Linked DNA regions of Homo sapiens: all the other regions are linked to region 3. The links are contacts of gene promoters, found by promoter capture Hi-C in blood cells and fetal thymus (Javierre and others, 2016). All regions are on one chromosome and are shown on one strand. The core of a region is centred on a gene start or on the middle of the fragment in contact, and the rest is flanking DNA. Distances in the headings are between cores, read along the strand shown. Region 1 holds the start of RUFY1 (RUN and FYVE domain containing 1). Region 2 holds the start of LOC124901224 (U4 spliceosomal RNA). Region 3 holds the start of PHYKPL (5-phosphohydroxy-L-lysine phospho-lyase). Region 4 overlaps RUFY1 (RUN and FYVE domain containing 1). Region 5 overlaps CBY3 (chibby family member 3).

What was found. Contacts are between HindIII fragments. The CHiCAGO score rates a contact against its expected background, and 5 or more counts as called.
Region 1: a contact is called between the fragment with the promoter of RUFY1 here and the fragment with the promoter of PHYKPL in region 3, in 1 of 17 cell types (endothelial precursors). The highest score is 6.9, in endothelial precursors.
Region 2: a contact is called between a fragment that was not itself captured here and the fragment with the promoter of PHYKPL in region 3, in 1 of 17 cell types (endothelial precursors). The highest score is 6.1, in endothelial precursors.
Region 4: a contact is called between a fragment that was not itself captured here and the fragment with the promoter of PHYKPL in region 3, in 1 of 17 cell types (erythroblasts). The highest score is 5.9, in erythroblasts.
Region 5: a contact is called between a fragment that was not itself captured here and the fragment with the promoter of PHYKPL in region 3, in 1 of 17 cell types (fetal thymus). The highest score is 5.1, in fetal thymus.

The regions. Positions count from the first base shown.
Region 1 is chr5:179,547,158-179,552,791 of GRCh38, reverse strand. It overlaps RUFY1 (RUN and FYVE domain containing 1), which reads right to left and starts at 2,238. Exons shown (of 18, transcript NM_025158.5): 1 at 1,913-2,238. The coding sequence starts at 2,222. The region is part of intron 4 of LOC128966623 (a long non-coding RNA gene); the gene reads right to left. It overlaps LOC105377762 (a long non-coding RNA gene), which reads left to right and starts at 2,288. Exons shown (of 4, transcript XR_941315.4): 1 at 2,288-2,848. RefSeq lists a silencer at 1,604-2,313. The HindIII fragment of the contact is 8,514 bases long and covers 1-5,634 here.
Region 2 is chr5:179,488,388-179,493,815 of GRCh38, reverse strand. LOC124901224 (U4 spliceosomal RNA) reads left to right here and starts at 1,659; the gene lies at 1,659-1,801. The HindIII fragment of the contact is 5,384 bases long and covers 1-5,364 here.
Region 3 is chr5:178,229,608-178,234,853 of GRCh38, reverse strand. PHYKPL (5-phosphohydroxy-L-lysine phospho-lyase) reads left to right here and starts at 2,052. Exons shown (of 13, transcript NM_153373.4): 1 at 2,052-2,362; 2 at 3,331-3,449; 3 at 4,755-4,914. The coding sequence starts at 2,304. LOC112267937 (a long non-coding RNA gene) reads right to left here and starts at 816. Exons shown (of 3, transcript XR_002956238.2): 1 at 1-816. RefSeq lists silencers at 1,818-2,227, 2,308-2,627 and an enhancer at 1,890-2,428. The HindIII fragment of the contact is 8,512 bases long and covers 1-5,246 here.
Region 4 is chr5:179,584,426-179,589,423 of GRCh38, reverse strand. It overlaps RUFY1 (RUN and FYVE domain containing 1), which reads right to left. Exons shown (of 18, transcript NM_025158.5): 8 at 3,559-3,628. The region is part of intron 4 of LOC128966623 (a long non-coding RNA gene); the gene reads right to left. Among named protein-coding and RNA genes, the nearest start is that of RUFY1-AS1, 17 kb to the left of the region's middle. The HindIII fragment of the contact is 900 bases long and covers 2,673-3,572 here.
Region 5 is chr5:179,675,079-179,680,715 of GRCh38, reverse strand. It overlaps CBY3 (chibby family member 3), which reads left to right. Exons shown (of 2, transcript NM_001164444.2): 2 at 1,451-2,156. The coding sequence ends at 2,133. It also overlaps a transcript of CANX not described here. Among named protein-coding and RNA genes, the nearest start is that of CBY3, 3.1 kb to the left of the region's middle. RefSeq lists enhancers at 1,718-1,977, 1,865-2,480. The HindIII fragment of the contact is 255 bases long and covers 2,393-2,647 here.

The DNA of each region.
Region 1 (5,634 bases), core at 989-3,488, 1.3 Mb before region 3:
TGTGCCAGGTACTGACACATTTCATTTTATCTTTTTAATTTTTTCCTTGATTCTGCATTAAAGGAAAGAAATTCTAGCAGGGAAGAACTTTTATTATTTGCTTACTCCTGCCACGAAATATCTAAGAGGCCTCCAGGAGACGCCATGCCTTGACTTTCAGTACTGACTGTCAATGAGTATGCAACTCAGCATCCACTGATGTGTGGAAAAGTCTCGGGAAAAGGTGTCAAGCTAGAGGGCAGTAGATTCCCGGCCTGCCCAGGCTCTCATCATCCTCTAATGCTATTTTCCACTGCCAGGATCTCAAAACGAGTCAGCCTTTCAACTTTACTCAGTAATTATTCTTGACCACTGAAAATCTCACAATTCACTACCTGGGGTCAGTGCATCTACAGCAAAGGTACCAGTGGATGGGGAGGAATCAGGAAGCCTCGAGTGTGTGCTATGATGCTCCTTGGAAGGCACCACAACCTTTCCTCAGCTCTGTCCCAGCATTTTCTATGAAGTTGGCAATGTTCTATTATGTGCTATCTCATACAGTAGCCACTGGCCACACACAGGCTACTGAGCATTTAAAATGTGGCCGCTGTAATCGAGGAACAAGTTTTTTTTTTTTTTTTTTTTTTTGAGACAGAGTCTCGCTCTGTCACCCAGGCTGGAGTGCAGTGGCGCGATCTCGGCTCACTGCAACCTCTGCCTCCCAGGTTCAAGCGATTCTCCTGCCTCAGCCTCCTGAGTAGCTGGGACTACAGGTGCATGCCAACACACCCAGCTAATTTTTTGTATTTTTAGTAGAGACGGGGTTTCACCATGTTGGCCAGGATGGTCTCGATCTCTTGACCTCGTGATCCACCCGCTTCGGCCTCCCAAAGTGCTGGGATTACAGGCGTGAGCCACCGCTCCCGGCCGAGGAACTCAATTTTTAATTCAATTTAAAAGTACTGAATTTCAATTGATTCAGTTAGAAATTGAGGAATCCGGCCGGGCGCGGTGGCTCAAGCCTGTAGTCCCAGTACTTTACGAGGCCGAGGCAGGTGTATCACAAGGTCAGGAGTTCAAGACCAGCCTGGCCAAGATGGTGAAACCCCGTTTCTACTAAAAATATGGGAGGGGGGTGGGGGCGGGGAACTTAGCCGAGCGTGGTGGTGGGCACCTGTAATCCCAGCTACTCGGGAGGCTGAGGCGGGAGGGAGGATCGCTTGAACCCGGGAGGCAGAGGGTGCAGTGAGCCGAGATCGCACCACTGCACTCCAGCCTGGGCGACAGAGCAAGACCCGGTCTCAAAAAAATAAAAATAAATAAAAACAAAAACACACACACAAAAACATATGCGTGCTGTTGTATTGGATAGCACAGCTCTGGATGTCTGGCGTTAGAGGGCTAAGTTACTTAACTCTTACTATCACTGATATGCTGGCACTCTGTTCATTACAAGGGCTGAAAAGGTCTTTAAGAGATCATCGGGTGACTTTAAAATCCCCATCTCACAGGCAGAGGTGAGCGGAGGCGCCGCTGGTCCGCTGCGCGCAGGGCCCACGCCCTCCCAACACCCGCCGGCGCTCCACTCCCGCACTGAACGGCTGAAAAGCAGAACAGTGCTGGCTCCGTTTCGTGTGTGGAGTTACTACAGAGTTCCGAAGCCCGGACGCGCACACGTCCTTCACCTAGTTAGTGGGAGAGCATAGAGGCGCGGGTGCGGGAGCGCGCTCAGGCACGCGGGGCTGCGGGGGGCGGTCTCGGCTGGGCCGCCGGAGTAAAGACCCAGGCGCAGCCAGGCGCCGCCCGCCCGCCAACAGCTCGCGTAACCTCCCGGAACGGCCAGTGCCCTCCCAGCCCGGCCCCCACCGCGCCCGCGCCGGCGGCCAGCGGGGACACGCGAGTCCGCCGCGGGACAGACCCGGCCCGAGCCTACCTGCGCGCGCCGTGCCGTCCCCGCTGTCCCCGCCGCCCAGCCCCGCGGCCGCGCGCAGCGCGCTCCCGCAGCTCGCCGACAGGTTCCCGGTGGCCCTGCGTGCCAGGGTCAGGATGGGCGCCGACCAGCCCTCGGCCGCCCGCGGCCTCGTTGCGCTCCGCAGGTCGCCTGGGCCGGGCAGCTGGCTTCGGTCCACGATCTCAAACTCTTCTCCCGGCTCAAGCGCTGACCCGGGCCCCGGCCCCGGCTCCAGCTCCGGCTCCAGCTCCCGCCCCCGCCCAGCAGCGCAGCCGCCTTCCCGGTCGGCCATCTTGGCCGTGTCATGTGACCCAGCGGGCGGGCGGGCGCGGGGTGGGGGCGGGCGGGCATCGCCTTTGCCTTAGGTGGGGGAGATTTTTCTCCCTCTTCACCGCCTCGCCTTCCCTCTGTTTCGAAAGGTTCGGGAAAGTCCAAGTCATAACATAAAAAGTGTGCGTATTCCCGGCCGCCGGCAGGACCTGTTCGCGGGGAAGTTCCTCTTGAACTTTCTCCGAGGACAGTTGTGCACCCTGCCCGGCGCTTCACGGGGTTCCCTGGCCGTCGTTGTCTTTGTGACACCATTTCCTCTTTTAAATTTTCATTTCATGGTCTATATTTTCCACTTCGTCATTTTTCTGTAGCACTCATTAGAACAAGCCCCGAAAGGGCGACTAAGGAAACGCACAGGCGAGGCAGGAAAGCAGGAATTTTTTTTTTTTTTTAATCTAATGACTATGACGGCTTGGCAAGAAAGAGTGCACGATAGTGGACTGGAAATCAGAGGTGGCTTCTCCTATTGATTAGTTAAGTGGGATAACAAAAACCGACCTCATTATTAAATAAGATTTGCAGTAAGGACCACATGGCAGATGTTAGCGATTGTGACTACTATCTCTGGTATCCAACTGTGTGGCCTGGGTAAGTCACTATACACTCAGTCTGTTTCTTCACTTGGAAAAGAAAGGAATTTGAGTAAGTACAAAGGAAAATTTTGGCCGGGCGCGGTGGCTCACGCCTGTAATCCCAGCACTTCGGAAGGCCCAGGCGGGCCTTTAGTAGGACGAAACCCCGTCTCTACTAAAATACCAAAACAACAACAACAACAACAACAAAAAACCAGCCAGATGTCGTGGCGGGACAGCTCTACTCCTAGCTCCTTGGGGGGCTGAGAGTGGGAGGATCGCTTGAGCCCGGGAGGTCGATCCCACAGTGAGCGGAGATCATGGCCACTGCACTCCAGGCTGGGCGACAAAGTGAGACCCTGTCTCAGAAAAAACACTAAAATTTACTAGCACTTAACACTTTGCAAAGTGAGGCAACATGAGCCACACCAAACCAGCAGAGCTGTTTTGATTCCCAGAATGTTTACAAATCTTAAAACTTGTTGCCAATATTTAGAAATCAAAAGATTTCACATAAGAATCTGGATTTTAGCTTTCTCTGGAATCACTGGAATATTTGGTAACTCATGGCATATTCCCAGATGGCAACAAACTGTTGGGAATAAACTGTGCTGCCCCTTTAGACGCCCAGCTGCTCCCTGGACCTGTCTTGGTCCAGCCCACTTCACTAGGTTGCATGATATGTCTGGTCCCTGAAAGGCCAGTTCTCAGTGAAGGGATACCACTTCATCTAGGAGTGTTTTGGGAATTTGTGGAGTTGGTGTTTGAGTTGTGTAATGACTGAGGGCATACTACCAGTCTTTTTTGTTTGTTTGTTTTCGTACGGAGTCTCGCTCAGTCGCCCAGGCTGGAGTGCAGTGGCGCGATCTCGGTTCACTGCAAGCTCCACCTCCCGGGTTCACGCCATTCTCCTGCCTCAGCCTCCCGAGTAGCTGGGACTACAGGTGCCCGCCACCACGCCCGGCTAATTTTTTTTTTTTTTTGTATTTTTAGTAGAAACGGGGTTTCACCGTGTTAGCCAGGATGGTCTTGATCTCCTGACCTCGTGATCCGCCAGCCTCGGCCTCCCAAAGTGCTGGGATTAGAGGCGTGAGCCACCACGCCCGGCCTGGTCTTGTTTGTTTGTTTGTTTTTGAGGCCAAGTCCTGCTCTGTCACCAAGCTGGAGTGCAGTGGCGCAATCTCGGCTCACTGTAACCTCTGCCTACCGGGTTCAAGCGATTTTCCTGCCTCAGCCTCCCAAGTAGCTGGGACTGCAGGGGCGTGGCGCCACACTTGGCTAATTTTTGTACTTTTAGTAGAGACGGGGTTTCACCATGTTCGCCAGGATAGTCTCGATCTCTCGACCTCGTGATTCCCCCGCCTCGGCCTCTCAAAGTGTTGAGATTACAGGCGTGAGCCACTGAGCCCGGCCCTACTAGTCTTTACTGGATGCATAGACAGGGATGAAGATAGTCTAGAATAACAGCATTGTCCCGAATCCTTCATGACTTTCCAATGCTACTGGACATTTATGTAGGTGAAAAGTTTGTTTATAATGATCAGGGCGTGGAACCGAATTCCATTTTGTATAAAAACATTAACTCTTTTTTGGGGGAACAGTTTCAACATTTATCAGGCAAGGTTATTCTTCAGTAACAACCCCCAAATCTCAATGGCTTAACCTAAAAGCTGGTTTCTCATCATGCTACATGTCAATGTAGATGGGGTGAGTACTCTGCCCAACTCATTGTAGTCTCTCAGGACCCAGCCTGTTGGGAGTTTTGCATAAATATTACATGCTCCAGTCCTGCATGACAAAGGTCACTTATGCACATTTCATTGGTGAAAGCAAATCACATGGCCACGTTTAATTTCTAGGGAGTTGGGAAGTTCAGACCTATTTCTGTCTGGGAAAACCACAACTGGGAATCTTTGTGAGCAGTGTAATGACTACCATAAGTGTACCCTAAATTTTCCTGGAACGTAGCTAAATTGATTTGTTCAGAATTACACGTGCAAATGTCTATGTTATTTCAGTGGTAGTTGTGCCTCGTTTACATATTGAAATATATCTCATTTTATAGTGCTTCGCTTTATTGCTTTTTTAACAAATTAAAGTTTTTGGCAGCCGGGCACGGTGGCTCACGCCTGTAATCCCAGCACTCTGGGAGGCACAGGTGGGTGGATCACCTGAGATCAGGAGTTCGTGACCAGCGTGGCCGACATGGCGAAACCCCGTCTCTACTAAAAACACAAAAATTAGCCAGGCGTGGTGGTGGGAGCCTATAATCCCAGCTACTCTGGAGGCTGAGGCAGGAGAATCGCTTGAACCTGGGAGGCAGAGGTTGCAGTGAGCCGAGATCGAACCACTGCACTCCAGCCTGGGCGACAAGTGCAAAAAAAACTGCGTCTCAAAAAAAGAAAAAGTTGCTGTTGGCAACCCAACAGCACGTGCTTATTTTGTGCCTCTGTTTCACATTTTCGTAATTCTCAAAATATTCTAAACTTTTAAACTACCCTTACATCTGTTATATGATTTGTGATCTGTGATCTTTGGTGTTACTATTATTAATTGTTTTGGGGCACCACAAACTGCACCCATATAAGATGGTAAACTTAATTGATAAATGTTGTATGTGTTCTTACTGCTCCACCAACCACGTGTTTCCTTCTCCCTTACCCTCTCCTCGGGCCTCCCTGTGCCCTGAGACACAATATTGAAATTAGGCCAATTAGGCCGTGGCTCAAACCTGTAATCCCTGCACTTTGGGAGTCTAAGGTGGGCAGATCACTTGCGATCAGGAGTTCCAGGCCAACATGG
Region 2 (5,428 bases), core at 1,423-3,922, 1.3 Mb before region 3:
ATTATTTAACGTGTACAACATGATGTTTTGAAATATGTAGACACTGTGGAATCATTACTATTTTAAAATAAGTAAATATTTCAAAACCTCCTCAAATTTAATCTGTATTACAGTAAAATTGATAGATGCAATTCACGTAAAGTTCCTTAGGGTCCACAGGAGATTTTCAGAGTATAAAGCTATCCTGAGAAAGAATATTTAACAATCACTCTTCTATATGTAATCACATGTCCACAAATACTTTTGAGGTTAATCATTTATTTTAAATTTATAAGGAACCAACAAGAACAAAGAAAAGGAAAACACTTGTAATCCTATTGCATGGGGACAAGAGACAATCACGACTGACATTTGCCAGGTTTTCTCCTAGTTGTGTTTCAGAGCATCTGTTTCCAGGTTAGTGTGTTCTGAATACAGGCTCTGTGTCCTACGCTCTGAATATGAGCCCCGCGTCCTAGCCTCTGGGTATAAGCCTTGTGTCCTAGGTTCTGGGTATAAGCCCCGGGTCCTAGGTTCTGCATATAAACCTTGTGTCCTAGGCTCTGGGTATAAGCCTTGCTTCCTAGGCCCTGGGTATAAGCCTAGGGTCCTAGACTCTGGGTATAAGCCCCGGGTTCTAGGCTCTGGGTGTAAGCCCCGCCTCCTAGGCTCTAGGTGTAAGGCCTGGGTCCTAGGCTCTGGGTAGAAGCCCCGGGTCCTAGGCTCTGGATACAAGCCTTGTGTCCTAGGCTCTGGGTATAAACCTTCTGTCCTAGGTTCTGGGTATAAGCCTTGTGTCCTATTCTCTGGTTCTCAGCCCCTTGTCCTAGGCTCTGGGTATAAATCTTGTGTCCTAGACCTTGGGTTAAACCCCATGTCCTAGGCTCCGGGTATAAGCCCTGTGTCCTTTCTGCATATAAGCCTTGTGTTTCCTAGGCTCTGGGTATAAGCCCCATGTCCTAGGCTTTGAGTATAAGCCCCATGTCCTAGGCTCTGGGTATAAACCTTGTGTCCTAGGCTCTGAGTATAAGCCCCACGTCCTTTCTGGGTATAAGCCTTGTGTCCTAGGCTCTGGGTATAAGCCCCATGTCCTAATCCCTGGGTATAAGCCCCGGGTTCTAGGCCCTGAATATAAGTTCTGTGTCCTTTCTGGTTATAAGCCTTGTGTCCTAGTCTCTGGGTATAAGCCCCATGTCCTAGGCCCTGGTTATAAGCCCCGAGTTCCAGGCCCTGGGTGTAAGTTCTGTGTTCTTTCTAGGTATTAGCCTTGTGTCCTAGGCCCTGGGCATAAACCTGTGTCCTAGGCCCTGGGTATATGCCCCAGGTTTTAGGCCGTGGGTATAAGCCCCAAGTCCTAGGCTCTGGATAGAAGCCCTGGGTTCTTGGTCCTGGGTATGAGCCCCATATCCTAGGTCACCAACCAGATTGAGAGCCCAGTCAAAGTTCTTTCTCATGGTGTGTCTAGGACGTCAGAAAACCTAGAGATGTGGCCGGACTCTGAGCCCCCTGAAAAGGGTTCCCAGACCTTTTGTGAGAGGGAGGCTTTGTCTGCCCAGAGCCCACCTAGTCTTGGAGTCTTGGAAGGCTGCCCGGCACCTCAGGTAGGCCTGTTTGCACCTCAGCCTCACCCTGGTCTGGGTATCCACTCCATACAGACATGTTTTTAAAAATTGAGGAATAGCTTTGTGCAGTGGCAGTATCATAGCCAATGAGGTTTATCCGAGGCGTGATTATTGCTAATTGAAAAATTGAGGAATAGTTTAGTAAAACACACAGATCTTAAATATATAATTCAATGGCTTTTTACAAATATCTATCTGTAGCCAACACCCCAATCAAGGCAGAAAACATTGCCACCATTGTAGAAAATTCCCCCCAATCCCTTTACAGTCTACTCAACTTCCCTTGTCCCCTAATCCCCAAGCAGCCACTATTCTGATTTGCATTCCAGAAAAGTAGTTTTTCTGGATTTTTTTTTAACTGACTTTCGCTCTTGTCGCCCAGGCTCGAGTGCAGTGGCGCAATCCTGACTCACTGCAACTTCCACCTCCTAGGTTCAATCAATTCTCCTGCCTCAGCCTCCCAAGTAGCTGGGATTAGAGGCGTGCACCACCACGCCTGACTAATTTTTGTATTTTTAGTAGAGACGGGGTTTCACCATGTTGACCAGGCTGGTCTTGAACTTCTGACCTCGGGTAATCCGCCCACCTCTGCCTCCCAAAGTGCTGGGATTACAGGTGTGAGCCACCGTGCCCAGCCTGGTTTTGAATTTAATAAATCTGTATGACATCCTTTGTATGGCTCCTTCAGTTCAAAACACTGTGTTTTTGTTGTTGTTGTTGTAGAGATGGAGTCTTGATCCATTGCCCAGCCTGCTTTCAAACTCCTGGGCTCAAGCAATCCTCTGCTCTTGGCCTCCCAAGTGTTGGGACTGCAGGTGTGAGTCATCGCACCAGCCAGAGTCCAATCGTGTCTCTAGTGAGAGCAGCCACTTTAATATAAAGGCTCAGGAATTCCTCCTCATGTTTGCTGCAGTGGCACTTGCCCTCTGAGTATCAGTTAGCTATTGTCACACTTATGCTGTGTAACAAACCATCCCCACATCTCAGTGGCAAACAGTAATAATCATTTATTTCTTACTCATGAGTTTGTGGGTTGGCTGGGCAGCTCTGCTCCACATGCCTCTCATCCTCTTCCTGGGACCAGCAGGGGCAGTTTCGTCTCTGGCTGATGGCAGGGCCCTGAGAGACGGCACATCTAACCCCACAAACACATTTCCAGTTTTGCTGTGTCATGCCTGCTGGCATCCCTTTGGCCAAGCCCAAAGTCAAGGGGTGGGAAAGGGAGGCTATGGCGAGGGTGTGAGTGTGGGTGAAAAACTGGGGCGGGTCATTCAATCTATGTTACCAGTTTCCTGACAATGTAAGTTAAGAGAAAGAGCTTTGTGGCTGACGCCTGTAATTCCAGCACTTTGGGAGGCCGAGGTGGGCAGATCACAAGGTCAGGAGATGGAGACCATCCTGGCTAACACGGTGAAGCCCTGTCTCTACTAAAAATACAAAAAATTAGCCAGGCGTGGTGGCGGGCACCTGTAGACCCAGCTACTCGGGAGGCTGAGGCAGGAGAATGGCGTGAACCCGGGAGGCGGAGCTTGCAGTGAGCTGAGATCATGCCACTACACTCCAGCCTGGGCGACAGAGCGAGATTCTGTCTCAAAAAAAAAAAAAAAAGGTAAAACTGGTTTGGTTTGCTAGTCCAATTATTTAGTGAATCAGTCCAGTTTATTAGAAATCCCAATGAGGTTGTTTTCAGAAGTGAGACAGGTCTGACCGGATCATTTGCAGAAAGCTCTGTTCTTGCTTTGGGACAGTCCTGCCCGCACTGGGAATGTGAATTTAATCGCCGTTCTCTCGCCGCTGCTCCTGCCCGCCTGGGACCAATTCCCTACCACACTGAGCTCATTGGAGACTTTAGTTTCATATTTTTAAGACCAGTTTAGTGCATCATCTCTGTCTTTATTTCTCCCTCCAGCACTTACTGTAGTTGATCTCTTTTATTTTCTTAGATTCTTTGGGGGGAGTTTATAGGTGGGATGAACCCATATATGCATGAAAATGTCTTTATTTTGCACCCCCAATTTAAGGCTAGATTGGCTGGGTCTTGGATCCTAGATTACGAATAGTTTTTTCTTTGGAATGTTAGAGAAATTGCTCTACTATCTTTTAGGATTCGGGATTGATGATAAGTCTTGATGTCAAGCTGACTTTCATTCTATTGTGACAACCTATTCTCTCGGTCAGAAAACTATGAGGATTTTCCTTTTTTCCTTGGTATTCCAAAATTTTGCTGCAATGTGCCTAGATTTCTAAAATTCCACTTTACTTTTTTTTTTTTTTTGAGATGGAGTCTTGCTTTGTCATCCAAGCTAGAGTGCAGTGGGGTGATCTCAGATCACTGCAACCTCCGCCTCCTGGCTTCAAGTGATTCTCCTGCCTCAGCCTCCCAAGTAGCTGGGATTACAGGTGCGCCACCATGCCAGGCTAATTCTTGTATTTTTAGTAGATAAGGGGTTTTGCCATGTTGGCCAGGCTGGTCTTGAACTCCTAGCCTCAAGTGACTGTCTCAGCCTCCCGCTTTATTTAATTAATTTATTTTGAGACGGAGTCTCTCTCTGTTGCCCAGGCTGGAGTGCAGTGGTGCAATCTCGGCTCACTGCAAGCTCTGCCTCCTGGGTTCACGCCATTCTCTTGCCTCAGCCTCCCGAGTAGCTGGGGCTACAGGCACCCGCCACCATGCCCGGCTAATTTTTTTTGTATTGTTTTAGTAAACACAGGGTTTCACTGTGTTAGCCAGGATGATCTTGATCTCCTGACCTCATGATCCACCCACCTCGGCCTCCCAAAGTGCTGGGATTACAGGCGTGAGCCACCACACCTGGCCATGAGTTCCCTGTCCTTCTCAGGGACAGGGAGTCAGTGATTCCTGGGGAGACTGTCTTTCTTCTCTGGACCAAGTATTCGCACTTTCTATATCAACTGGGGGCAAATGCTGTGCGATGCTGGTGACCTTGCTGATTTATTCCCAGAACATGATGCATTTCCTTCCCCTTTCTTTCCCTTTTGTGCTACTTCTAATTAAGGAAGATATTTCTGTCATTTATGGGATTTTGGTTCGGAGGGAGGTCAATCAGGGGTGCTTGTTCCTCCATCTGGCCCTGATCTGCGTTTTTAGCAAAACAACTGAGTTTGGAAGTTTGAAACTAATGACATTAGGGCTGGGAAATTTCTTAATGTAAATATATTTTAGCAGAGTTAATGAAAACTTGGAGTGCTTACAAAGTTGGATATCTTACATGTGTGACAAATTATATATAAACCAGATTTCATTTCCTGTTTTTTTTTTTATTTTTTCTTCTTTTTAATCAGCAAAGGAAAAATGGCAAGAAAACCAAGTCTCTTATCTTATAACTACACATTTTAGGGGAGAATGCATATTGAAACATTTTCAACATTTGCTGTTAAAATGAATACAATTTTACAAAAAGAACCCCCCCCCACACACACAAAGCATAAAGTTCTAGGCGATGATGAGCCCCTCATTCAGAAATGGTCCAGGCTTTGCCTCCGGGAGCCCGTTGGCCCCAGCCTGCTGCTGTTGGCAACCGCAGTGCCGTTTCCCTCACACATCTCTCATCACTATGGTGATTCTTGTTAAATAAAGTGAGCAGTCCCGATCATGTGCACTAGTGCCTTCTTCTGCGTTTAATCTGTGGCTGTCAGTTTCCACAACCCATCTATTCAATAAAGATTTGTTGATTATCTACTATGTGCTTGGGCCCAGTGACGCAAAGATGAATAGGACAAGATGCTTGCCCTTGAGGAAGCTTCATGTAGGGGAGAAGAGGCAGAACAGTTAGATTCCATGGATCCTCTGGCATTTGGAGTCCAAC
Region 3 (5,246 bases), core at 803-3,302:
TTCCTCCTGGTCCCTAGGAGACCACTAGGAATACATGGGATGCTTCTGGTTAGCACAATGATTGCAGGACACCTGGGCATTCAGGGGACAGGGCCAGGGATAGCAAACACCTAAAATGCATAGGACAGTCCTACCCAGTGACAAATCATCTCAACAAGAATCCCGGTGCCAACCCTGTTGAGAAACACCATGCCCTGGGTTCAAATCCTGACTCAGCCACTTCCATCCCCTACCCTCTTGGACTCCAACATTGCCTAGAGGGCCAGGCATGAAATAAAGGACAGATGAGTGCCTGGCACAGGGCCAGAGACAAGGAGTGGGCTTTTCTGAGCAGGAAGAAGGTGAGGCCTCCTGGTGTTCTGTGCCATGCTATAAGATACTCCTGGCCCAGGAAATGGCTCAACCTGGTCTGACCTCCAACTATATCACCTCTTGACCCAGGAGCAGGTGAGATGTTAGCCGGGCCCAGCTACAGCCTTCTCACCCTCTGCCTTAAAGCAGGAAAAGCCCCTGAGCCAACCTGATTCCTCTGAGCTGCACGGGGCCACAGCTGTGGCTGGAGTTTGGGCTGCAAGACAGGGCTGAAAGGCGGGGCCCAAATAGGACTCACACACACACAAATACACACACACACACACGGTCTGTGAGGTCTTGATCCTCAGAAACGAAGTACAGGCTGGGTATGGTGGCGTGCACCTGTAGTAGCAGGTACTTGAGAGGCTGAGATGGGAGGATCACATGATCCCAGGGAGGTAGAGACTGCAATGCTGCACTCCAGCCTGAACAACAGAATAAGACCCTTTCTTTAAAAAAAAAAAAAAATACAGGCCACAAGCAGTTAACCTCGCAGTTAATTTGGGAAGAATTTTTTCCAAAAATCATGTAAAATATTCAATTCAGCTTTACAGTTAAAAATAAGAAATTCCATTCTTTTAGGGAAGATGAAAAAGTCCTGTTGCATGGATGGTGGTGATGGCTGCACGACGATGTGAATGTACTTTTGCCACTGAATTGTATCCTTAAAAATGGTTAAAATGGTAAAATTTTGTTATGTATATTTTACACAATAAAGAAAAAAGAAACTCCAAATGTTCTTTAATAAATGCCTTAAGCGGCCGGGTGCGGTGGCTCACCCGGCCTGTAATCCCAGCACTCTGGGAGGCCGAGGCAGGCAGATCATCTGAGGTCAAGAGTTCAATAAATGCCTTATGCATCTTACAACTGTATTGGGAAGAGAAGAAGAAATCAGCAATGAGGGAGTGAAGCAGAGGCCTGGGAATCATGATGTGGACAGAAAGAAGGGACAATCAGGAGCCTCCCCTGCACCTGCTGCAGTCCCAGGCCCGTGTTCCAGGGTTCTTCAAGGCAGAAAGCCCCAGTGCCTCACCCCAGGAGGGGGCTTTTCTCTCATATCCCAGCCCCTTGGGAGGCTTTTTCTTCTCACTCCCTGGGCTGGGAGTCAAGAAGACCTCAGTAGGAGTCCAGCCTCTGCAGCCTTGCTGCGTGTCTGACAACAAAACCCTTTCCCTTTCTGGGCTTCAGGGTCACCGACATGTACCACAAGGAGGATTCCCAACCTCTCTTCTTGCCCAAACGCTGCATGATTCTCTCAGCGACGATACAGCTCGTCCGGTTCACCCTGCCTAGATTCTAGCAGGAACTATGGTGCCCTGAAGGTCAAGCCCATGGTGATCTCCTTGGTCAGCCCCAGAAGGGACCCTGGGCTCTCCTTCTGCTCTTCCTGCTGCCCCTTCATGGGGCTGGGAAAACCTAGGACCTGCTTCTCCCACCCTGAGGCCCCTACTGTGTACCAGGCCCGGGTAAGGTACCAGTCACATACTCGCACTTAGGCCTCACAGTTCATCCCATTTTATGCACAAGGCGACTCAAAGACTGAGTCTGGCCCAGAGAAGGCCTGCAGGAGCTCCGAGCCCCGCCTGGGCGCCGGGAGCAGGGGCGGGGTCGTCCGGGACCCTTTCCCGGAAGGGAGGCCGCAGGGGCCTGCGGGGCGGGGCCTGCGGGGCGAGGCCCGGGGCGCGTCCCGGAACCAGAGACGGGGCAGCGCTCGAGTTCCTGCGCGGGACTGCCAAGGCACGACCACGGGCCGGAAGGCTGCCAGGCCCAGTGGGCAAGCGAAGAAATGAACCACCGCAACGCGGGCGCTTCGGGGCGGGGCCGAGTGCGAACCTGAGCCCCAAATCCCGACCCAGGCAGGGGCGGGGCCCGGAGCGGGGCCTTGGAGGCCCAGCCCGCGCGGCGACGTCTCCGCGTGGCGTCACGGCACCGACTGACGGCCACCCACCATGGCCGCAGACCAGCGCCCGAAGGCCGACACGCTGGCCCTGAGGCAACGGCTCATCAGGTACCCGGGCGGGGGGCGGGCGGCGGGGGGCGCGGGGCTGCGCGGAGAGGCACGCGCACGCACGACGCACGCACGCACGCACTACGCACGCGCCTCCGGCTAGGAAGCCGCTGCTACCCATCCCGTCCGGCCGCTGCCCCGGCCCCGCTGGAGCTTCTAGGGCCCGAGGCGGGCGGCGCCGTTGGGCAGTCCCGGCGGGTGGTCTCCGGGGCCGCCTCCCCGACAGCGCCGTCTCCAGGCCGCCCAGTTCAGGAGACGGCCCCGCCCTCACCGCTGTTCGGCTGTGTCAGCCTCGCTTGGCAGCCTTTACTCCGGAGAAGACCTTCACCCTGGCGCCTGAGAGGACCTCACCCAGGGTGGCCCGTCAGCAGCACCTGGGCCTGGCTCGAGAGTGACCTGGGAGGGGGCTGAAAGGGCAGACAAGGGAGAGTCGGGGGAGTCGGTTCACAGGCAGCACACTTGACCTGTGAGGGGGCCCTCGGTGGGACGGTGGGTGAGGTCGCCTCCCACTGGAGCTTAGGGCTGGCACCCAGCGAGGGGCAGCAGGGCCACGTGGCTGGCAAGGAGCTGTTTAGGGCTGAGAGCCAGGCACCTAATGTTGGTGCCCTGGCCCATCCCATCGAAGACACGCGGCCTTATGGAGTCCCCATGGGACGGGGCAGCCACCTTTTCTCAGGATCCGGGAGACTGACGCGGACACATGCAGAAATGAGCAAGGAGGCCACAGAGGCTGAAAATGCTTTCAGAAACAATCCGAAGTTTCAGCGACTTGTTACCCCATCTGCTTCCTGCTTTGCAACCACCTGTGGAGTGGAGAGACAAGGCAGGGAAGCAGCACCTTGCCCTTCCAGCTCTCATTTCCCCCCCGCCACCAGAAACTGGGAAGGGGTGGGCGGGGGTCTGCGATGAGTAGACTTCACCCTTTCGGTCTTCAGACATGGCTGTCCACTCCTTGCCTGTCCCCACAGCTCTTCCTGCAGACTCTTTTTTCCCGAGGATCCTGTTAAGATTGTCCGGGCCCAAGGGCAGTACATGTACGATGAACAGGGGGCAGAATACATCGATTGCATCAGCAATGTGGCGCACGGTCAGTATCACACCTCAGGCTGGCAGGGCAGGAGAGGAAGGCAGTGCTGTGAACCTGGTCCCAAGGTGACCTGAGATTGCCGAGAGGTGTGGAGAACCTGGGTGGAGTTGAGGCACTGTCAGTATGCAGAGGAGGCTCAGCCTTCGCAATATAGCTGTGGAATTCTGCAATCTGGAGCTGTGCTAAACCAGGCAGGGGTCAGCAATCTAGGTCTGTGAGTCTAGTTCCACTTGGGACTGATGATGAGCTCACAAAGTGGCAGATGGCCCAGCTGTGACCAGCAACGTAGCACAGTGCTGGCCAAGTGCTGGGGTCATGGCAGTGCTTCAGCCCCATTGGCCATCTCAGGTGCTAGGCAAGGGAGCTGAAGTAGGAATTCAGTCATCTTGATGAGGCTGCCAGAGCTGATGGAAAGAAAGGGAGTCTGAGACTCAGCAGGCACATGGAAGATGAATAAAGTTGAGGTTAAAAAAAAAAAAAAAGCAGAGACTCTAGTCTTAGACTGCTTGGGCTCAAATCCCTGTCCCCTACTTACTAACTTGTGATCTCGGGCAAGTTACTTAATTCTCAGTGCCTCAGTTTGCTTATCTGTGAAAGACATAATGATACTAGGTACCCACTTTAAGGTGTTTGGAGAATTAAGTGTGTTAATTTATGTAGCTTGCTCTGAATGTGCCTGGCACATGGTGAGCTCTCAGTACATATTCACTGTTATTATCCTTGGCCTTTGACAATCAAGATTACCACCAGCCCCCTTGGCTGGTGAAGTGAAACCAGTTGACAGTCACCCCCCACCCCACCTTTGTCATACAAGCCTCAAAAGGCCTTCCAGCCTGGGCAACATAATGAGACCTTGTCTCTACCAAAAAAAAACTTAAAAATTAGCCAGGCATGGTGACTGGTGTCTATAGCCCCACCTGCTCAGGAGGCTGAGGTGGGAGGACCACTTGAGCCCAGGAGTGTGAGGATGCAGTGAATGCCATGATCACACCATACACTCCAGCCTGGGTGACAGAGTAAGGCCCTGTTAAAAAAAAAAAAAAAAGTCCTCCTTAAAGACATGGGCTTTCTAGACAGGGTTCTTCTGCTGAAGCGGCTTTCCTTCTGCCAGAATCTCAGGAACTCCTGGATCTGCCTTTCCAGAACCAGCTTCTCTCTCCCTGCTCTGCCTTCAGACTGCCCTCTTTCTACCTCTCCCTCTAGAACTACATCTCTTCTGGCTGGGTTTATAGCTTGGGGCTGGGGGAGGCCCAGTGGGACTGGCTGAGTGGAGCCAGCCGTGTGACGGAGGCGGCCCTCTTCCAGTTGGGCACTGCCACCCTCTCGTGGTCCAAGCAGCACATGAGCAGAACCAGGTGCTCAACACCAACAGCCGGTACCTGCATGACAACATCGTGGACTATGCGCAGAGGCTGTCAGAGACCCTGCCGGAGCAGCTCTGTGTGTTCTATTTCCTGAATTCTGGGTAAGTGGACTGTGGCCAGCCCCCGGGAAGAGGGTGAGACGGTAACAAAGACAGTCACTCACATGGGCCCAGTGTAGTGTAGCTGACCGAGTGTGGACTCGGAGAGGCAGCCCCCACTGCACCAGGCTCCTGAGATTCCCGGCTGTAGGCCCTGATGCTTTCTCTGTTGGATCCAGTTTCCTTGTCTCTTATTGAAGGATGTTATTACCTCCTTTCTAGGATCATTGCTGGAGCTTAGTGAGGTAATATGTTCCTTTATTTCTGCCTTAAGGATACAGCCAAAATCCCTGCCTGTGGGTTGCTCAGTAAGGAAGGAAAACATCAAGTGATTC
Region 4 (4,998 bases), core at 1,873-4,372, 1.4 Mb before region 3:
CTTGTTTTCAATAGGTAATAATACATGGTTCCAAATTCCAAAGACATGAAAATGTATGTAGTAAAATCTCTCCTCCGCCCTTGCCCCTAGCCATCTCTGCCCTCTCCAGATTTTCTCCCTCTACAAAAATGATAGCATATTGCTGAATGTGGACAAAGATTTATAGACACAAAAAATTAGAAACAGCCTGAATGTTCACTATTAGGGAAATAGTTACATCATAGTGGAAGCATAAAACAAACATGTACTCAATAAAATGTTTACAAAAACTTTTAATCACTTGAGAACATACTTAAGATATAATACTAATAAGGAAAAAAGGTTATATGGTATGCTCTCACCTGTATTAAAAAAAAATCAACTAGGTTAAAAATGCTTAAGAAAAGATGGAGTGGCTGGGTACAGTGGCTCACACCTGTAATTCCAGCACTTTGGGAGGCTGAGGTGGGTGGACTGCTTGAGCCCAGGAGTTCGAGACCAGCCTGGGCAACATGGTGAAACCCCATCTCTACAAAAAACACAAAAATCAGCCAGGAGTGATGTCTCATGCCTGTAATTCCAGCTACTTAGGAGGCTGAGGTGGGAGGATGGCTTGAGCCCAGGAGGCGGAGGTTGCAGTGAGCTGAGATCATGCCACCGCACTCCAGCCTGGGTGACAAAGCCACAGCCTGTCTCAAAAAAGAAAAAAGAAAAGTTGGGAACAATACAAATCAAATAATAAAATGACAAGAATAGTTGTCACTTAGTAAAGGGGTTATGGGCTTTTTTCCTGACTCTTCTTTCTTTCCAGTTTTTCCAGCTAATGATCGGTAAAAGTATATTTAAATCACTAGAGGGAGAATTAAAGAATTTGCAGGGAGGAATAAAAAACAAATCATTGAAGATATGCCCAAGAGGACCTCTTATTCCCCTGGAAGGACTTCTCATGGCTGAGGGAAAAGCATAGAGAAGCAGGACGCTGTCCAGGACCTGCCTAAGGAGAGGCTGTCACAAGAGGCAAGGCAGATGAGTAAACACACCAACCCATCCCTCCTCATTCCAGCCTCATCACACAGCTTGCAGAGAGGAAGGTGCAGCTGGGGAGAAAGAAGCAAGATCTCTGTCCTTGGTGCTTGGCTGGCTCTCGGCATCATTCACTAGTGGAGGGACCTCGAAGCACTGAACTCCTCACTTTCTCTGTCAACAGTGTCTACACCCCCTGAGAATTCCTCTCCACTTAGACTCAGAACCCAGGCCTGGGGTTTCTACACATTAACTGCTGTGCCCAAAAAAAGAAACACCAAGGCTTGAAAGGGCGTGTTACTTGCCCGAAGGGAAGAAGCAGGCAAAAACCATAAGCTAATTCCCATTCCACTCTCTGGAGATGCAGAGAGCACACCCTGAAGAGGGCTACGCTTTTCATTAAGCACATTTCTTTGTTTTTTTAATTGAGACAGGGTGTTACTCTGTCTCACTGCAGCCTCCAACTCCTAGGCTCAAGTGATCCTCTCACCTCAGCCTCCCGAGTAGCTGGGAGTACAGGTGTGTGTCACCACAGCTAACTTTTAAATTTTTTGTAGAGACAGGGTGTTGCCATGTTGCCCAGGCTGGTCTCAAACTCCTGGGCTGAAGCAAGTCTTCCACCTTGGCCTCCCAAAGAGCTGGGATTTACAGGCATGAGCCACCACACCTGCCTGAAGCACATTTTCTATTACAATCATTTGCCTTTAAAGAAAACATAACCTGGCTGGGTGCAGTGGCTCATGCCTGTAATCCCAGCACTTTGGGAGGCCGAGGTGGGCAGATCACAAGGTCAGGAGATTGAGACCATCCTGGCTAACATGGTGAAATGCCATCTCTACTAAAAAAAAAAAAAAAAAAAAAATTTAGCCGGGCGTGGTGGCGGGCGCCTGTAGTCCCAGCTACTCGGGAGGCTGAGGCAGGAGAATGGCGTGAACCCGGGAGGTGGAGCTTGGGAGCTTGCAGTGAGCGGAGATCACGTCACTACTGCACTCCAGCCTGGGAGACAGAGCAAGACTCTGTCTCAAAAAAAAAAAAAAAAGAAAGAAAGAAAAAAGAAAACATAACCGAAGCTGGGCTCAGTGACTCATGTCTGTAATCCTAGCACTTTGGGAGGCCAAGGTGGGTGGGTCACTTTAGCCCAGGAGTTTGAGACCAGCCTGAACAACAAAGTGAGATCCCGTCTCTACAAAGAGTTAAAAAATTAGCCGGGTGTTGGTGGTGTGTACCTGTAGTCCCAGCTACTGGGAGGTTGAGGCAGGAGGGTCTCTTGAGCCCAGAAGTCTGAGGTTACAGTAAGCTATGACTGCGCCACTGCACTCCAGCCTGGGTGACAGAGTGAGACCCTGTCTCAAAAAGCAGAAAAACCCCACATAACTCTGCTTAGTTTCAAAAGCTCAATTGGAGCTTCATCAAAGCACGCCATCTTGACTGAGATGCAGGGAATCTGCTTGTTCTAAAATCAAACAACTCGAGTGCTCCCACGTGGCAAGTGTTGTCCTGAGCACATTTACCAGATATTCGTCTTAATCTTTGCAACAGTAAAGGATGTATTATTACCTAATTTGGAGGTGACAAAAGTGAGGCTCAACCACCGACCTGCCTGACCTGAGGCTCAAAGGCCTGCCTACCAAGGTGACTGTGAAGCCTCCAATCCTAAGTTCCATGAAGCTTCTCCCATGACACCCCCATCTGTGACACCGTCTTGAATTTCCTTCTACTCACACAAATCTGAGCTCCTTTCCTGAAGGCCTTTCAGGGCTGGCGCCTCAGGAGGGAGCAGTCAGCTTTAAGGGAGGCTTACACGGGGTCCCTCATTACAGAGATGGGCTCTGAGGCTCTCTTCTCTGCTGTAACCCACCTCCATGCCGTGGAGGTGTTCCTTCTCAAGCCCCTCTCAGAGCCCTTGTCCTTCTAGGTGGGAGGCCTGGGCAGCCGGGGACTGCTACCTGTGGAAAGCCTCAGAAGGGCTGAGCACCCCCCTCCTGCTAACAGGAGACAAGATGTGTCCAGCAAGGAGACTGCCGGGCAGCTGGCAGCAAGCTCTCTTCCTCGGCTCAGCCCTCCTTTGTCCTGTCCTTTCATTCTCTCTTCCTAGTGAGAAAGCAGAGAAAGACCGCACTGTGGGGAGGCTGGTTGCATGCTCCTGAGGCCAAAGCAGAAGGGGTGGGCTGGATACTTATTCCTTATGACAGAGTCTGTGCTTTCTGGGGCAGCAGGGAGGCACACGGCATCATGGGAAGGGCAGAAAAAGAGGAAGACACGGCACTTCCACAACACAAGCTGGGCTCTTCCAAAGAACAATTTCCTTCTATGGGATGACTTTGAGGTGATAAAATCTAAGTCACTTAGAACTGGCTCGTGATCCGCTGCAGTGTCTCACTGGGAGCCTCGGACAGAGCAGAACACAGACATTCTCCTGTCCCACGTGGGGTAGCTGGAGGCTAGCAAGTCCCCTTCCTACCAGCAGGAAGCTCTGCTATCGCAGACCGACTACACAGATTCTCTTAACCTTGGGTCATTCTGTTTTGTCTAAAAATTTCAATAAAACTTACAAACCTCTTCTTGAAGCTTTGAGTTAGTCTTTTCCAAGCCATCTATCTTGGTTTGAAGATCCCCAACTGTGCAGCTGTAGAAAATAAGAATATTAAGTAAACATAAACTTATACAAGCTGACTGTTTTCTCAATCTGTAAACAGTAAGAGAGATTCCTAGATTTCCTGTATGAAATGGAAAGGCAGAGGGTCTCCAATTAACTCAGAGAAGATGAGAATTCTAAATATACATTTGCAACATACTTTTCAATAAGTTTTGTCCCGAAAATTTAATCTTTCTTTTTTTATTTTGAGGCAAAGTCTCGCTCTGTCGCCCAGACTAGAGTGCAGTGGAGTGATCTTGGCTCACTGCAACCTCTGCCTCCCGGGTTCAAGCGATTTTCCAGCCTCAGCCTCCCGAATAGCCTAGACTACAGGTGCGTGCCACTGCACCTGGCTAATTTTTTTGTATTTTTAGTAGAGACAGGGTTTCACCATGTTGGCCAGGCTGGTCTCGAACTCCTGACCTCAGGTGAGGCTGCCCACCCTGGCCTTCCAAAGTGCTGGGACTACAGGCATGAACCACTGTGCCCGGCCTATTTCTTTTTTAGTCATCTGGAAAGAGAATTTTTTTCTCCCAACACAAATGGTGATAGAAACCAAAATGTGTTGGCAGTCATATACCTAAAGTAAAATTCATTAACAAGGTATTAGTATTTTTGGGTAGAAGGATCCAAGGTGTTTTTTGTTTGTTTGTTTTGAGACAGAGTCTTACTCTTTCGCCTAGTCTGGAGTGCAGTGGCGCGAGCTCAACTCACTGGAACCTCCACCTCCTGGGTTCAGGTGATTCTCCTGCCTCAGCCTCCCAAATAGCTGGGACCACAGGCGCCCGTCAACATGCTCGGCTAATTGTATTTTTAGTAGAGACGGGGTTTCACTGTGTTAGCCAGGATGGTCTCAATCTCCTGACCTCGTGATCTGCCTGCTTCGGCCTCCCAAAGTGCTGGGATCACAGGCGTGAGCCACTGCGCCCGGTCCCAAGGTGTTTTTAAATCCCTTTTACACCTTCCCCATTTAAAAAATATTATTTAATAACATGTACTACTTTTTTTTGTTTTTTTTTGTTTTTGAAACAGGGTCTTGCTCTGTCGCCCAGGCTGGAGTGCAGTGGTGTGATCATGGCTCACTGTAGCCTCAACCTCCAAGGCTCATGATCCTCCCACCTTGGCCTCCCACCTTGCCACCAGGCCCAGCTAATTTTTGTATTTTTTTGTAGAGGTGAGGTTTCACTATGTCACCCAGACTGATCTTGAACTCCTGGGCTCAGGTGATCCTCCTCCTGCCCCAGCCTCCCAAACTGCTGAGATTACTGGCATGAGCTTCCACACCTGGCCTCTAAGCACTTTAAATGCATCAACTCATTTAATCTTCCCCACAATTCAATGAGGTAGATCCTACTGTTAGC
Region 5 (5,637 bases), core at 1,271-3,770, 1.4 Mb before region 3:
ATAATAGAATCAGCACTTACTGGGCAGGGGTGGGGGGTGCAGAGAGAAGTGAGCAAAATGGGACTTGTCTGTTATCTGGACTTTGGACTTCCTGAGGGCACAGTTTGTTTGGAATAAAAGTCATGTTTAGTGTGCACAATCCCTGATACTTTGAGCCCTATGCATAGGTCTAGCCCATGGCACACACCCCAGGATGTCAGTGAACACACTGGACTGTGGTCTATACACGCATCTGTCTTCCAAGCTGGATTAGGAGCACCTTGAGGGCAGGCAGAGGCTGTTTCAGGTCCCCTTCCCAAGACCAGAGTCTGGCACAGAGCAGATGCTAGTTCAAGTCTATCAAATGACTGAATGATGAGGGCAATAATGCTGTTGGCTATGCTAGATATCCTCCCAGATTGCTTTCAGAATCCAGATCTAACCCCGGCTTTCTAATCCTTCAGCAGTTCCCTCTTACCCACAAAAGGAAGTCTAAGCTTCCGAGCCTGCCTGTAGGGCACCTTCACATAGTGCACTGGTCCACCTTCCCAGCTTCCTCTTCTGCTCTTCCCAGCACCAATCCTATCCAAGCTCGTGTTCACATCTGAAATATGAAAGTCCTGCCCTGCCGGGTACAGTGGCTCACACCTGTAATCCCAGCACTTTGGCGCTGAGGCGGGCAGATCACCTGAGGTCCGGAGTTCGAGACCAGCCTGGCCAATAAGGTGAAACCCCATTTCTACTAAAAATACAAAAAAAAAAAAAAAAAAAAAAAAAAGGCCAGGCGCAGTGACTCATGCCTGTAATCCGGGCACTTTGGGAGGCCGAGTTGGGTGGATCACCTGAGGTCAGGAGTTCGAGACCAGCCTGGCCAACATGGTGAAACCCCGTCTTCACTAAAAATACAAAAATCAGGTGGGGGTGATGGCAGGCGCCTGTAATCTCAGCTACTCAAGAGGCTGAGGCAGGAGAACTGCTGGAACCCGGGAGGTGGAGGTTGCAGTGAGCCAAGATCGCGCAATTGCACTCCAGCTCGGGCAACGACAGCGAGACTCAGTCTCAAAAAAAAAGAAAAAGAAAGCCCTGCTCGGCTCTTCCCTCTGCCTAGAAGTTCTCCATTTTCCATCCTCAACCCACCTGGCAAAGTCCTACTCCTCCTTTAAGTACCTACTTACTTGTCTTGCTACCATTCCCTACCCCTCACCCTTCCAGCTGCAACTCAGAACAAGGCCCTCCTCCCGTCCTTCATCTGCATATGTATCCCAGGGCCTGATCCTCAGTGGTCTTTGGGGAAGATGGTTTAGGTGAGACTGCTGCCTGTGCAGCGTGGAACGACGGGCTCCTCGGTGGCCAGCAGCTGGTGAGACACAGCCGCAGCCGTAGCTGCAGGGCTAAGACATGTCCGCCGGCCTCGCGGTTTGAGAGGCGGCCTGTACCAAGCACGCTGCTCACCCGGACTCTTGTCTCCCAGCAGCGCCCCCTGGCTCGCCTTCATCATTCTGGACATCCGGGCTCCCGAGACAAGAGCGCAGCACGAGTCGCCAGCGCTCCCGAGGCTCCCCTTCGAGCACCTGCGTGCCCTACAAGGTCCACGCCCTGGCAACCTTCGAGTGCTCGGCTACGAGCCATGCCAGCCGCCTGTGGCAGACGCTGCAGCAGTTTTGGGCCGATCACATCTCGCGGCCCTTCTCGCCACGGCGGCCGCCACTGCGCCGCATGCCCTCCCTGTCCACCTTCTACCTGCTGGACCACAACACGCGCCAGGCCGAGCTGGGCCTCGCCTACGGCGCGCCGTGCATGCGCCTCAGCAACCAGGCCTTCGTGTTCCGCGGCGGGCGGTGGACCACTGAGAGCCAGCTGGCGAGGACGCGGTCGCCGCTGCTCTCGCGGACCGCCTGGGGCTGGAAGGCGCAGGTGCAGCGGTCCAAAAGCCAAGTGTTGCTGGAGGAGAACAACTACCTGAAGCTGCAGCAGGAACTGCTCATAGACATGCTGACTGAGACCATGGCGCGCATGCACTTGCTGGAGAAGCAGCGCAACCCCGAGGTGATCCCGACGGCTGCGGCGCGCGCCGGGCAGAGGAAGATGCGCAAGCGCGCAGGCGCCAGCGCGGGCGTGCTCATGATCCAGCCGTGCGCTCTGGACTCGCAGTGACGCAATAAAGGCCGCGCTACGCATGCGCGCCTCACGCCTCGGGTCTGCCACTGCCCCAGCGCGGGACTGGCTCCCGCGGTTCCCCGGGTCGGTCTGTGCGTGTGGGTTGGGGAGGTCTGCGTGGCCTCGGGGACTGCCCCTCGGTGCTGGGTGTCGGCAGGGGACGCAAGCCTAAGCTGCCTGTCTTGGGAGGGTGTGATGGGGCCGTGGAGGAGGGTCTGCGCGTGGCTCTCCGGGAGTGCGGAGTGGAAGCCAAGCTTGCAGCCGACATGGCCCAGATAGGGTGGAGTGGCGGGTAATGGCCTTGCAGGCCATCCAGGTAACGGAGGGCGAAGTCCCGGAGACGGAGGAACCGCGGTGCTCAGGGAATGAAGGGTGTGGTGCGGAGGGAGCGGAGGACGGTGTATGGGGTCGGGGACTTTGCACTTGGTCCGTCTTCAGGGCCTCTAGGCTCAGGAGGTTTAGAAACTAGAAGTCCCAGGGTAAGTGTTATTTTACATTCCCAAGAGAAGCTTTCTGGAAACCATGGGCTGTGCGGCCCCCACTTGCCTGTGTGGCATTTTGGAGAGTCGCGTCTCTGTTACAGGCCTTTTTTTTTTTTTTTTTTTTTTTTTAAACTTATTTTTAAACACGGGGTCTCGCTCTTGTCACCCAGGCTGGAGTGCAGTGGCGCGATGATGGCTCACTGCAACCTCGAGCTTCCGGGCTCAAGCAGTCCTCCCACCTCAGCCTCCCAAACGTGGGATTACAGGCGTGAGCCACCGCGCCGGGCTCAGGCCTCCTTTTCTTTTCTTTTCTTTTCTTTTTGAGACGGAGTTTAGCTCTTGTTGCCCAGGCTGGAGTGCAATGGCGCGATCTCGGCTCACCTCAACCTCCGCCTCCTGGGTTCAAGCGACTCTCCTGCCTCAGCCTCCCAAGTAGCTGGATTACAGGCATGCGCCACCACGCCCGGCTAATTTTTTGTTTGTTTGTTTTTGAGACAGTCGCGCTCTGCCGCCCAGGCTGCCGTGCAGGGGCACGATCTCGGCTCACTGCAACCTCCACCTCGCGGGTTCAAACGATTCTTCTGCCTCAGCCTCCCGAGTAGCTGGGACTACAGGCGCTGCCACCACGCCCGGCTAATTTTTATATTTTTAGTAGAGATGGGGTTTCACCATGTTGGCCAGGCTGGTCTCAAACTCCTAATCTCGTGATCTGCCCGCCTCGGCCTCCCAAAGTGCTGGGATTACAGGCGTGAGCCACCGAGCCCGGCCTCAGGCCTCCTTTTCTACCTCCATAGAATGCAGTCTGCCTGGCCCACAGTCTTCTAAAAATTGCATTAGTTGCCAAAGTTTCAGAATTTGGAGATACCACATTAAAAATCCAGATTTCCTGGGGCCAGGCGTGGTGGCTCACGCTTGTAATCCCAGCACTTTGAGAGGTCGAGGCGGGCCTATCACGAGGTCAGGAGTTAAAAGGCCATCCTGACCAACAAGGTGAAACCATGTCTCTACTAAAAATACCAAAAATTGGCCAGATGCGGTGTCGGGTGCCTGTAAGCCTAGCACTTTGGGAGGCTGAGGTGGGCAGATTGCCTGAGCTCAGGAGTTCGAGACCAACCTGGGCAACATGGTGAAACTCCATCCCTACCAAAATACAAAAAAATTAGCCGGGTGTGGTGGCGCATGCCTGTAGTCTCAGCTACTCCTGGAGGCTGAGGTGGGAGAATCACCTGAACCTGGGAGGTGGAGGTTACAGTGAGCCGAGATCACACTACTGCACACCAATCTGGGCGACAGAGTGAGACTCTGTCTCAAAGGAAAAAAAAAAAAAATTAGCTGGGCTTGGTGGCATGCGCCCTACAGTCCGAGTTACTCCTGAGACTGGGACAGGAGAATCGCATGAACCTGGGAGGCAGAGGATGCAGTGAGCCAGCATCACACCACAGCACTCCAGAGCCAGACTCTGTCTCAAAAAAAAAATAAAGAAAATTTTAAAATCCAGCCGGGCACAGTGGCTCACACCTGTAATCCCAGCACTTTGGGAGGCCAAGGCAGGTGGGTCACCTGAGGTCAGGAGTTCGACACCAACCTGGCCGCCAACATGGTGAAACCCTATTTCTACTAAAAATACAAAAATTAGCCAAGCATGATGGCAGACGCCTGTAATCCCAGCTACTTGGGAGGCTGAAGCAGGAAAATCACTTGAACCGGAGAGGTGGAGGTTGCAGTGAGCCAAGATCGCGCCACTGCACTCCAGCCTGGATGACAAAGTGAGACTCTGTCTCAAAACAAAAACAAAAACAAAAAACAGATTAGGTTACCAAGGGATGGGAGGACACAGTTTGTGTGTGTGTGTGTGTGTGTGTGTGTGTGTGTAAACACAAGGGGGCTTCCTTTTGGGCTGATGAGAAATTGGCACTATAGTGGTGATAGTTTTGCAACATTGTAATAAAAGTCACTGAATGGTACACTTCAAAACGGTCAATTTTATATGAGTTTTATCACAATAAAAGAAGTAAAAGGAGGAAGATGCTTTACATAAAAACATTAAGCAAAACTTACATGTAGCATGCCAAAATAGCAAAACTCATAAAGGGATCCAAGAATGCCTAAAGTTTAGGGAATATTGCTTTGGCCAGACTACTTGAAAACAAATACAGTCCTAGGGTGGAGAAAGGTATCTGCCCCACCAAACCTGCAGAAGGCAGGGAGTCCCACAGCCCAGTGCGGGCCCTGTTTAGAAAGGTTCATCTACAGGTCAGATGCGGTGGCTCACGTCTGTAATCCCAGCACTTTGGGAGGCTGAGGTGGGTGGATCACCTGAGGTCAGGAGTTCGAGACCAGCCTGGCCAACATGGCAAAACCCCATCTCTACTAAAAAAAATACAAAAAGTTAGCTGGGTGTGGTAGCAGGCGCCTGTAATCCCAGCTACTTGGGAGGCTGAGGCAGGAGAATTGCTTGAACCTGGGAGGTGGAGGTTGCAGGGAGCTGAGATCGCACCATTGCAGCCTGGGCGACAGAGCGAGACTGTCAAAAATAAAAAATAAATAAAAAAAGAAAGGGGCATCCAAGTGGATCAAGGGCCTGAAATAAAAGGAGCAGGATGATATTTTGAAATATCTAACTTTGTTCTTTCTGCTCTAGAATTTCACACCCTGGTCCTGAGCCCTGCCAAAGGGCAGCCCAACTCATTGCCCCAGGAGATGAAAGCCACAGAGCATAAAGTCGGAACAAAGAAAGCAGGAACAAAGGACCCTGGCTTTCACCTCCTACAGCTCAGAATCCTCTGGGGAATAGAGCTTTGCAAAAATATTTCTGGGTTTGAGGAGGCAGGTCAAAAAGGCTGTGTAGGTTTGTCAAGCAAGAGGAGAGATGAGGGCCAGGTGTGGTGGCTCACACCTGTAATCCCAGCACTTTGGGAGGCCAAGGCAGGCGGATCATCTGAGGTCAGGAGTTCGAGACCTGCCTGGCCAACATGGTGAAACCCCGTCTCTACTAAAAATACAAAAATTAGCCAGGTGT